Linked DNA regions of Homo sapiens: all the other regions are linked to region 1. The links are contacts of gene promoters, found by promoter capture Hi-C in blood cells and fetal thymus (Javierre and others, 2016). All regions are on one chromosome and are shown on one strand. Each heading gives the region's core, a stretch centred on a gene start or on the middle of the fragment in contact. The rest is flanking DNA. Distances are from core to core; before and after follow the strand shown. Region 1 holds the start of SYP-AS1 (SYP antisense RNA 1). Region 2 holds the start of FTSJ1 (FtsJ RNA 2'-O-methyltransferase 1). Region 3 holds the start of PORCN (porcupine O-acyltransferase).

Region 1 (3,792 bases), core at 437-2,936:
TTGTATTTTTAGTAGAGACGGGGTTTCTCCATGTTGGTCAGGCTGGTCTCGAACTCCTGACCTCAGGTGATCCGCCCACCTCGGCCTCTCAAAGTGCTGGGATTACAGGCGTGAGCCACTGTGCCTGGCGGGAGTTGGGTCTGTTTTAGTTACTATCATGCTTCCAGCACTTTGAGTAGTACCAGATATAAAATAAGTTCTCAAAAATGTGTATAGAATGAATGAATGGGGATTAAATAATAATATTGGCTAACATTAATTGGGTACCTACTGGGTTAAGGTATGTATATACACCTGTCTTACTTTTGTATCTTGTTTATTGCCTGTCCCTTACCCCTTCGCTGGAACAGAGCCAGAGGGCCACAGCCTATGTCTGCCTTGCTCACCACATAGTCCTAGAGTCCAGAGCAGTGCCAGGTACAAGGCAGGTGCTCAGTGATCCCAGTGGATGTAGCCTCGAGGTGGGAGCTGGGCAGGAGCTACTTGCGGGGGGAGGTATTGGCCGGTTCCACCCTGCCCCTTCCTCTCCCAGGTCTGTTGGTATCCCAGGGTGGGAGCACACCTGAAGGGGTACTCGAACTCGACCTCGATGCTGAGGTCACTCTCGGTCTTGTTGGCACAATCCACGCTCAGCTGGAGCTCCCCACTGTAGCTGCCGCATGTGGCAAAGGCGAAGATGGCGAAGACCTTGGGCAGCAGGGATGGGGATGGCCACAGTGAACCTGTGTGCATGTGGGAGGGAGGTGCCCTCCTCTGGACAGATCGGGGGCCCAGCACAGGCAGCAGCAGATGGAGCAGTCCCCACCCCCACCCCCTAATCAGGGCTCATCGGGACCAAGGACAAGCTGATTACAAGGGTATGGCTGTCTCTTCCTGTTTCTCTCTCTGTGTCTCTCTCTGTCTCTGCCTTTCCATGCTGACCTCCCTCTTCTCTGTTTGTCTCTGTTGTTCTCTGTGTATCTCACTGTGTCTCTGTTTCTCTCGGTATCTCTGTTTCTCTATGTGTCTTTGTCTTTCTCAGATGTCTCTTTGTCTCTCTGTGTCTCTGATCCTCTCTGCCTCTGCCTATCTGATCTGTCGATGTCTCTTTTTGTCTCTTTTTTCTCTGTCTGTGTAAGTGTATGCCTGTATGTCTGTGTCTTTCTGTTTCTTGGTCTGTTTGTCTCTGTCTCTCTGTCCTGTCTCTCACTCGGTCTCCGGATGGTTCTCTCTCTGTCTCCCTCTTGCCTCTGTGTGTTGGTTTCTCTTTTTTCTGAGTGTCTCTTTCTCTCTGTGTCTCTCTCTCCCTCACCCTGTTTTCCTGCCTCTCTCCCTGCGTCTGTTTCTCTTTGCATCTGTTTTCTGTGTCTCCTTTTTCTTTGTTTCTGTTTGTCTCTTCTCTCTTATGTCTGTATCTCTTCTCATCTCCATATTTCTTTTTTTTTTCTCAGTATTTCCATCTCTGTCTTTATCATTCCCTGTCCCTCATTCTCTCTGTCACCTTCACTGTCTCTGGGTTTCTCTGACTTTGCATCTCTCACCCAGCATCTGCTACAGGCTCCACCTCCCCCACCCCTCCCTCACTTCAAGAGAGGAGGTAGGACGTCACAGTCTCCCACTTCACAACGGGGGTACCCTCAGCCCTATGTGACGTCACAGCTCATCTGTTTTCTGGCTTCAGACCCCTGAAACCTCACCCTGGAGCCCAATTCCCCCATCCCCTACAACCCCCGCACTCATCCCTGGCTACTCGCCCCTACTCCACCCCTGCTCTTCTGGACCCCATGACCTCCCTCTCTCCCTGCACTCTGCCCCAACAGCCCGGACCACACTCACCCATTGCAGCACCTTCACAAAGCCGAGGGGCTCCTTGACCACCCGGAACTGACCCCCAGCCACCAGCTGAGGAGAGAAACAGTGGGGAAGGGGTGGGGTTGTTGGAGGTACAGGGAGGTGAGCGGCAAGGCTGCCCATCAATGACCCCAGGGGATGGAGCATGTGACCTCGGGGAGAGGGTGAGAAGGAGAAAGTGACACCTTGGGGATGGTGTGAGCCCCAGGGTCCAAGGACTGGTGGGAAGGTCTGAAGAGATGGTGAGTCAGATGGCAGAGGAAGTCGGGGGTGAGGGAGATGGGGATGAGGTCAGGACTAGTTAAGGAGGGGGAGCAGGTTTGAAACGTAAAGGCGAGTCGGATGGGGAAGGGGTTCGGGTAGAGAATGGGGATGGAGTGGGGTGCATTCGGGTGGGGGGGTTGTGATGGTGAAGGTGAGTCATAACGGGGCAGGAGTCGGTTTGGCTCAGGTGGGGGAAGGGTCTGCAGGGGTAAAGGTGTGTTAGACGGCGGTGGCGGTAGATATTTGAGGTGATGGGGATGGGGAAGGGTTGGGACTGATTGGGGGTGAGTTTCTGAGGTGGCAAAGACGAGAGACATGGCGGAGAGGGTCTGGACTGATTAAGGTGGGGGAGGGCTGGGACACGGCTTCAGTCGCTATGTGTTGGGGGTGAGGAGGCTGGGGGTTTTGGAAGGAGTAAAACCGGATTGTCCCCTAGGTGTGCTCTGGGGGAAGGGGTGGTCGCCTATGGGGGTACAGTCTCTGTTTGGGAGGGGCGGGTGCCAGCCCTCTCCCCCATCCCCGCCCCCACACCTTCTGTCGCTCTATTTCCTAGCTTATCCGCAGCACCCCCCATCTTCCTTCCACTCTCCCCTCCCCTTGTCCCTTGCCCTCACTCCAGCCCCCAGGCCCCTATTCCTCCCCTCGCGGTCGCCAGTAATAAACGGGGCTCCGGGGGCCCCCGCTGCGGCAGTGAGGACGGCCCTCGCTGCGGCAAAGAGCGCACTCCTTTTCTCCACCTCCCCCTTCCTCCCCTTCACCTGCCGCAGACCCCCATCCCCAGCGCCGGGGACCGGGTCTCCGCTGCCAGACCCTGGCCACCACCTCCCAGAGTCGGCTGGCCTGAGCGACCCGGCCTAGGCAGCCGGGCGGCGGCGGGCTCTGTCCACGGTGCTGGAGCGCGTACCTGATTCACCACGTCCATGTCCGCCAGCAGCAGCATCAGCAATGCAGGGGGCGGGAGGCTCGGCTAGCAAGGGCGGCGCGGGGCGCGGCGGGGGCGGCGCGCGCTCGTTGGAACAGCCCAGGCGGCTGCAGCCCCGCCCCTCGCGCCCCCTCCTTGCCCGCCACGCGCCTGCGCACAGCGGGTTGTACCACAGTCTCACCGGCAGCCATTCCGGCCCGGAGGCTGGAGCCGTGAGAGCGTGCGGGAATATGCGTTGGGAAAACACAAGTCGAGGGCCGGGGAGAGGAGACCTCCCTGCTCGGTCCTACAGTGTGACAACTTTGCCAGGCTCTTTTCTGAGTTTGTTAAACATGTTCACTCATTTAATGCTTACAGAAGTCCTACGTTGTAGGGACTATTAGGCCGTTTTTACAGACGAGGAAAATAATTCCCCAGAGAGCTTAAGTGACTCTCACAAGGTCAGCCAGCTACTAGCTGGCAGTGCCCAGAGTCCCTGCAGTTTAAACACGGTTCAAGGCCTTCCAGGTTCCTTTTTCATAGTCTGCATTTTAAGCACACCCTGAAACTCCTGCCCCCATCTAGCCATCTCCCTTATTTCTTTCTTCCTCTTTGTCAAATTAATGCCTACTCGAACTCTACCACTTTACCTATTTATTCCTTAGCTCTCTCTTAATTGGAATAACCCTCCTTCCTGCGACTAAAACTAGGCCCATCAAGGTCAACAGTGATGGCTATGATGCAAAATCCAAAATACAGTTGGGGCTTAAGATGCTCAACTTCGGCCAGGCGCAGTG
Region 2 (3,792 bases), core at 1,073-3,572, 720 kb before region 1:
GTCCTGCTGGAGGAAGCAAGTTTCTTTGCTAAAAGTTAAACATCCTCTTCGTGAGCGACAAGAAAACAGGACGTGGGAAGCGTCCCACAGGGTGAACATGGGCCCCCAATGCCTGGCACCCCCTCCTCTCTTGTGGAGCGGAGGCCTGGTGGCTCGAACCCTTCCTTTCTCACACTCGCTCGCCTCTGCAGGGGAGTCATGTTCCCACAGTCCCACAATGCCCTTGAGTTCTGCTGACAAAGCTCTGGCTTCTTCCCTGGTTCTCAGAGTCTCTACGCCTCCACCCAGGGCTCCATAGAAATGCAGGACGCACCACTGGGGAAAAAATTAAGGAACGAAGCAACAAAAGGATGAATTCAACCAACATTTATTGAACACCAACTGTGCGCCACCCCTGTTCCAGGCACTGGGAGGCAGCAGTGAACATGACAGAACAGGAATCCCTGCCTGGTGAAGCTCGTGTGCTAAGGAATCAATCATTCTGTTTTTTTTTTTTTTCTTGAGACAGGGTCTCACTCTGTCGCCCAAGCTGGAGTGCAGTAGCACGATGTCGGCTCACTGCAACCTCCACCTCCCAGGTTCAAGTGATCCTCCCACCTTGGCCTCCTGAGTAGCTGGGACTAGAGGTGCGCATCACCACGCCCAGCTAATTTTTGTATTTTTAGTAGAGACGGGGTTGCACTATGTTGGCCAGGCTGGTCTCCAACTCCTGACCTCAAGTGATCCCCCCGCCTCGCCCTCCCAAAGTTCTGGGATTATAGGCGTGAGCCACTGCATCCAGCCCTTTTATTTTTTAAAGAGACATGGGTTCTCGCTATGTTGCCCAGACTAGATTCAAACCCCTGGGCTCCAGGGATCCTCCCACCTCAGCCTCTGGAGTAGCTGGGACTAAAGGCACATGCCGCCGCCCCTGGCTAATACTCATATGCATGTTGCCAGGATTAAAATGAATGAACAAAGGGAAGGACATGCTGGAGCCAACTTATACAGGTTGGGAGGAGCTGTTCAATTTTCAGAAATTTTGCAAACTGGTTGTTAAACAGCTGGTTTAACAACTGGTTTTGTTTGTTTGTTGAGACAGGGTCTCACTCTGTCACCCACAGTGGAGTGCAGTGGCAAGATCAAGGCTCACTGCAGCCTTGACCTCCCAGGCTCATGCAATCCTCCCACCTCAGCCTCCCAAGTAGCTGGAACTACTCGCACACACCACCACGCCCGGCTATTTTTATTATTTGTAGAGACGGGGATCTCACCATATTGCCCAGGCTGGTCTTGAAGTCCTGGACTCAAGCGATCCTTCCACCTCAGCCCCCTAAAGTTAAACAGCTATGGTTAAAAATGAAATGATATAAACTTACTCAAAACTGGTAACTTCCTAATTTTACCACATTCCACTATTCTCTATGCTCTTGAGGTCATTTACCCCCATTTTATCTGTATGGTAAAAATAATACATGATAGTGCACTACTGCATCTCTTTTAAACTCCCTGTTCAGTGACCACAGGTCGGTACCTTGAAATCTAACAAGAAGATTGTACCTAAGCCATGGAAATTGGTAAATGCTAGAAACCAGCCTCCCTTCCCCCCACCCCTCCCCGCCACCACCCCCGCCCCAGCCAGTGGTTAACCATTTACCAGCACACCACTGAGGGCATTTAGAGCCTAGCACATGGTAAACACTATGATAAACGTTTTCATTATTTTTCCGTTTGTCCACTGGGTCAGGATGTATAGTCTTTTTTTGTGTCTGGGATGGAATTTAAAATATTTGAAGATCACAGAATTACAAAAGCCCAGAGAGTGGCTAAGCTACACCTATTTAACCCTCCCAATAATGCTGTTAAGTCTATACTATTGATTATCCCCACTTTCCAGACAGGGAAACTGAAGTTCTGAGGCAGTAAAACTCAGGCAGCGCCATGCATTAGCTGTAGTGCGATCTGAAATTGCAGCCGAGCAGCCTCCGCGCGCTCGCGCACTTCAAGAACGCATTTTCCTTACTGTCACGTTTATGCCCCGAGTGGTAATTTCGCTTCCCGGCACGCGAAAAATGAATGGGCGCCATCTTGCGCGTGGCATCTTGGGAAATGTAGTTTACAGGCTCAATAACAAGCACGGTCCAAGAAGGGAGGGGCGGGGGAGCAAATCGATCTTGGCCTCGGAAGAAAAAGAACAAAGAATCGCTGGCAACTTGCGCGTCGCGTCGCTGCAGCCACGCAGTGCGTGGATTCAGCCGCTTTGGCCGTGCCCGTTGCATGCCGGGAAACGCAGTTCGCGAGCCCCGGATACGTCGACAATAGATGACGGGGCTCACGTTGTACGTTCACATCAGGTCCCGGCCCGCCGGAACCTGGGCGATCCACGATGCCGAGTTTGCCACGCTGCGACAGCCCATAGGCTTGCCCCCCCGGGCATTCGGGTGGACTACGAACACAAACTGAAGCCCTAGGACTTGTCGCCCGTTTGCGCTCTCGCCGAGGCACAGGCTGCTCGCGGACCACCCTGCTCCGAAAACTAAGGTGGGCCCTGGGGCGCGGAGGACAGGAATGCGGGCGGAGGCTATTGAGGCACGCCTGCACTGTCCCGCCTGCGGGGAAAGGAGGGAGGTCCGCCCTGGGCGCCGTAGCTGTGTATGGTTCGGGCGGCTGGCACCGGGTGGGTTCTAGACCCAAGGTTTGTCTGCAGAAGGGGACCAGTAGACGGGGTGGATTCGAGGTGGGGACATGGGACGCAGCGGTCGGAGCCGCCTGGAGGGGTACCCGGTGGTCCCGATGGAGCTATCATCTTTGAGGTATTGATGAGGAGGGACGGGGAGTGTGGTCAGAAGGCTGTTTTGGGAGGTTGGGTGGAGCGTGAGGGTGGGGTGTTACTGGGGAATCAATGGGGGCTAATAAGAATATTTTAGTCGAACTGTTGTTCATTGATTGATTAATGAGGGGATGGCAGAGTAAGCAACTAGAATATAACGAGTGATGGATGGGAAAATGATCCCCCAGGTATTGATGGAGGTATGATATTCAACGGGTTAATGGAAAGTGATGGGGCATCGTAATGGCAAGGATGATGGTGAGGTTGTGGGGGGAATAATAGATGGATGGAGGTCATGATCAAGGGGCCTTGGTGAAAGAAAAGATAATGAGAGGCTGATGGTGTTGTAGTCAGAGTCAGTAGTTGGGCTATGGTGGCATGACCGTCGAGGAATTAGGGGACAGAGTGAGTAAAGAGAGGGCAATAGTAAACTAGGGTTGGGGGGGTTAACTTCTGTTGATACATAGTAGGTGAATAGTAAACTGTTGGAGTGTGATCATCCAGTGATGGATCCATGGAGAGCAGGGTGGACAGTGAGGGGAGAATGGGGAACTGATGTGTGATCAGTTAACGTGTTTGTTAATGAAAGAGTTACAGGGCAGGAGGCTAGTGCTGTGATCTATGAAGGGTCTATTGGAGAAAACTGAGTTAATGGGGGCTGATAAATCAGTAATTGAATGCTTAATGGGGAGCTAATAGACCATGATTCTCCAGGCATTGTTAGAGGTTCATAAGGATGTAGTAATAAAGGGGCCTAATCATCTAAGGGATTAATGGCGAATGGGGTGAAACGAGAGAGATATAGGGAGTGGGAGGTACAATGAAGTAGTATTAGGATAAAGGTGGAAAACAAGGGATTAATGGGGGCTAATAGGACTATATGAATCTAGGGGCAATGGGGACAACTGGGGATACAGTCAGTGAGATTTTAATGGGCATGACATGAGCAGAGAAGGGTTGATAGTGGCAGTTGCAGGGTTTAA
Region 3 (3,792 bases), core at 859-3,358, 690 kb before region 1:
ACTTCTTTGTGACACAGGTCAAAAGCCTAGATGGAAACAATCAAGTCCGCAAAGCCCAGGAGCACATGTGGTAAGAATCTTCCAGTTTTAAATGCCAAGTCTTGCAATTGAGGGAAGTATTTCTGGTAGGTGCTGTGGGTCATTGTTGACTCAACTTGAGTGGGTTTGACAACTGAGAAAAAAATTAAAATGAAATTTAATTCATAAAATGTATGTCCTGTATTCTGCTGTTAAGGAAAAGAATTGATATTTGTGCATCTGGTCTAAGCTATTATTCCTTATATATACATATTCTTACCGTATTAAATGTTTTTTGTTTGTAATACATGAATACTAATTTATGAGCTAGAACTCCATTTAACTTCATGTTAAAATAGAGAGAAAATATACATTTCTCTTCAATTACCATTGGTGTTTCCCAGCAAAAACCTGCCAAGCCCACTCTTTTGTTTAACAGAAAAGGACAATGGAGACGGGTGAGTGAACATGACTTGCCCAGCTCCATACAGGCCATTGTTAATCTGATTAAAATCTGTTTCAGTTGGCTGCCCAGGTCAGGGTGGCGTCCAGTTTGACCTGGGCTTCCTTCTCCCTTCCACGTCACAGCTAAGCATGTAGTGCAGTAAGCGCCCAGTAAGTGCTCTTTTGGAAAAATAGGCCCTTCATCAGCCTAGGTACAAAGGGGAATGCCTAGAAACTGCAGCAGTAGGGTAGGTAGAAGGCGGGTGCTACATAAATCTTTAGTGTTGGTGCAGATAGAGGTGCGGATGGGGCCAGTGTAAGCGCTTTCTTTTTTATTTTATTTATTTATTTATTTAGAGAAGGAGTTTCGCTCTTGTTTATTTATTTATTTATTTTGGAGAAGGAGTTTTGCTCTTGTCACCCAGGCTGGAGTGCAATGGCGTGATCTCGGCTCACTGCAACCTCCGTCTCCTGGGCTCAAGTGATTCTCCTGCCTCAGCCTCCGGAGTAGCTGGGATTACAGGCGCCCAGCTAAATTTTTTGTATTTTTAGTAGAGACAGGGTTTCGCCATATTGGCCAGCCTGGTCTCAAACTCATGACCTCAGGTGATCCATCCGCCTCGGCCTTCCAAAGTGCTGGGTTACAGGTGTGAGCCACCACGCCCAGTCTTTATTTATTTATTTTGAGACGGAGTTTCGCTCTTGTAGCCCACAATGACGCGATCTTGGCTCACTGCAACCTCTGCCTCCTGATTCTCCTGCTTTAACCTCCCGAGTAGCTGGGATTACAAGCGTGCGCCACCACGCCTGGCTAATTTTTGTATTTTTAGTAGAGACGGGGTTTCGCCATGTTGGCCAGGCTGGTCTCGAACTCCTGACCTCAAGCTATCCTCCTACCCTTGGCCTCCCGAAGTGCTGGGTTTATAGGCGTGAGCCACCGAGCCTGGCCCTTAAGAGCTTTATAAATGCCCCCCTTTTAAGTGCTCGGTACTAGCCTCCCTCTAGTTCACAGAGAACATTTACTAGTCGCTGGGGTCACCTTCGAAGCAAAGAGTCTGCTGGGGAATTAAGCATGCAAATCACTTCTCAACGACGACACGCCAAGTGCTCACAGCTCGTCCCCAGGGGAAGCACAGGCGCCTAATTTGTGTTCCTAGGTGACACAGTCATTACTTATAAATGTTCCTGGCCGGTCCCAGGAGGTGGGAGGGTTGGGAGTTACTTCGGTTCTCTCAAAGGTTGGGGAAGGAGAGATCTCGGTTTGTTTTCCCATCTGTGAAACGGGGACACCACGGTATTTAGAGGACGTGCGCGGGTGACTATTTGGGGGTGCAGCGGCTTCCCTCCTCCCTCCCCCATCTTTCCCTTCTCACTTCCAAGGCTTGGAAATTTGGAGATTCGGAAGTTTGTTCTTGGATGGCCAGAAATCCTCCGGAGGCAGACGGTCTGGGGCTGAAACCGCCACAGGCCGGAAAGGTGCGGGCGTGAACGTCCTGCGCGCCGACGTCCCCCCGCGCCGGTCTCCCCTCAATCCTCCTGCTCCCCTCCTCCGCGTCCCCGTCCCCGCCCCCCTCCTGCTCTCCCATTGGCCGAGCCGGCGGCCGGGCCGCCCCGGGATTTAAAGGGCCCGCTCGCCGCGCCGCTCTGGGAGCCGCTGCTGGTCCCGGCCTTGCGGCCTGCGGGGGAGGCTGCCCGGAGGAGGCAGCGGCGGCGGCAGCGCGTCCTCGGTCCCCAGGACCACGGCTTCTTTCCTGCCAGGTAGGTCGCCAGTAGTGCGCACGCGGCTCCCCAGCTCCCATCCCTGGGCCGGCCTCCCCAGGCGGATCTGTAGCGCGAGTGCTAGGACCCCCTCCCCATCACCTTTCCGACTCTCCCTCAGGCTATGTCTCCTACCACCACCTCCTTGCAGCCCCCGGACCTGGGCAGGACTTTGTTGGCGGCCTCTCGCCGGGTGGGGATGAGATGGGGGGCGCGGAGGATACAGGACACCCCCCCTCCCCGTGCCGCCGCATCCATACAAGGAGAGATGCACACGGCCCCCAAGTGTCACAGAATCCCCCTCTCTGCCCTCCACTCAGAGCGACTCTACCTTGGAAACCAGGGATTCCCCTTCCCGTCGCCCGCCCCATTTGATATATGGGCCTGAAATGTATGCCATCCCATCACCATCGGACTGGACTGTTCACAGCACTGGAGAGACAGAGGTCCTTCATTCACTCCAGGTCACAGGCTGTGCGTGTGCATGCCGAACACCCACATGCACACAGTTGGTGGCTCAGTCTGATGTACCTGACTTCTCACGCCTTCCCCCAGTCCTCCAGTACCGTGCCTCTACATGGGCTGGGCAGCCCCAAACTGAAATGTGAGTGCCAGAGTGCATCCTTTAAGCGAGGTCTGCCCCACGGACACCCGCTCCCTCTGTGTCCCTGCTTTGACAGATCTATCCATCTGGCCATCCATCCGTGGGGGTCTGCAATGGCCACCTTTAGCCGCCAGGAATTTTTCCAGCAGCTACTGCAAGGCTGTCTCCTGCCTACTGCCCAGCAGGGCCTTGACCAGATCTGGCTGCTCCTTGCCATCTGCCTCGCCTGCCGCCTCCTCTGGAGGCTCGGTAAGTGCCTGCCATACCGTGTGCCACCATGCCAGGCCATATCAGACCTCCCACATTCATCCATATCGAGCCACACCTTACCCTGTCACATCCTGCCAGGCCCTAGCATGTCCAAGCTGGACCCCAACATGTTCAGCCCCACCACATCCCACCAGGCCAAACCCCATTCCACCATACCACATCCTACTATGCCAGCCACCCCATGCCATGCCACACCGAGCCACATCCTGCCATGCCAAGCCATGCCCTTCAGTATTCCTGAGTTCTGGGATTCCAGAAAGCTGAGATTCTTGGATCTTGGGATTCTGAAATGTCTACATCCCAAGGTTATAAGACATTGGCATGCTGATGTCACAGGGTTATGGAATCCCAAAGTACCATGATTACAGCGTTTGGAGATTCTGACAATTTGAAATTCTCACATTCTAGACTTCTAAAATGTTGGCATTGTGGATTTCTATAATCAGGGCATGATGCGATTTCTGGATTCTAGGATTCTGAAATGTTTCCACAGTCATAGCAGGCCTGTATCTTAATGAAAGATTCCAAGTCCCCAAGATTCCTATAGGAGGCGGAGATTTCTGGAAATCTGAGATCCGAAGGTTCTACACTTTCTTTTTTCTTTCTTTCTTTTTTAATTTTAAATGGATGTTCTATTTTTTCCCAGGTTTATTATTTTGAAATTTTTCAAAGCTACTGAAATGTTGAAAAAATAGTAC

The links. The method cuts DNA at HindIII sites, captures the fragments that hold promoters and counts their contacts. A CHiCAGO score of 5 or more calls a contact.
Region 2: a contact is called between the fragment with the promoter of FTSJ1 here and the fragment with the promoter of SYP-AS1 in region 1, in 1 of 17 cell types (neutrophils). The highest score is 5.8, in neutrophils.
Region 3: the fragment with the promoter of PORCN here is called in contact with the fragment with the promoter of SYP-AS1 in region 1 in 5 of 17 cell types (activated CD4 T cells, neutrophils, total B cells and 2 more); the score reaches 9.4 in activated CD4 T cells.

What each region holds. Positions count from the first base shown.
Region 1 is chrX:49,197,153-49,200,944 of GRCh38, forward strand. SYP-AS1 (SYP antisense RNA 1) reads left to right here and starts at 1,687. Exons shown (of 2, transcript NR_046649.1): 1 at 1,687-2,072. SYP (synaptophysin) reads right to left here and starts at 3,041. Exons shown (of 7, transcript NM_003179.3): 1 at 2,999-3,041; 2 at 1,816-1,881; 3 at 563-687. The coding sequence starts at 3,034. RefSeq lists silencers at 2,874-2,923, 2,994-3,233. The HindIII fragment of the contact is 12,908 bases long and covers 1-3,792 here.
Region 2 is chrX:48,473,877-48,477,668 of GRCh38, forward strand. It overlaps FTSJ1 (FtsJ RNA 2'-O-methyltransferase 1), which reads left to right and starts at 2,323. Exons shown (of 13, transcript NM_012280.4): 1 at 2,323-2,520. LOC124905185 (a long non-coding RNA gene) reads right to left here and starts at 2,467. Exons shown (of 2, transcript XR_007068226.1): 1 at 2,003-2,467; 2 at 352-1,312. The HindIII fragment of the contact is 16,848 bases long and covers 1-3,792 here.
Region 3 is chrX:48,506,884-48,510,675 of GRCh38, forward strand. PORCN (porcupine O-acyltransferase) reads left to right here and starts at 2,109. Exons shown (of 15, transcript NM_203475.3): 1 at 2,109-2,220; 2 at 2,901-3,073. The coding sequence starts at 2,938. PORCN-DT (PORCN divergent transcript) reads right to left here and starts at 1,956. Exons shown (of 2, transcript NR_135596.1): 1 at 1,836-1,956; 2 at 1-172. RefSeq lists a silencer at 1,936-2,335. The HindIII fragment of the contact is 7,257 bases long and covers 1-3,792 here.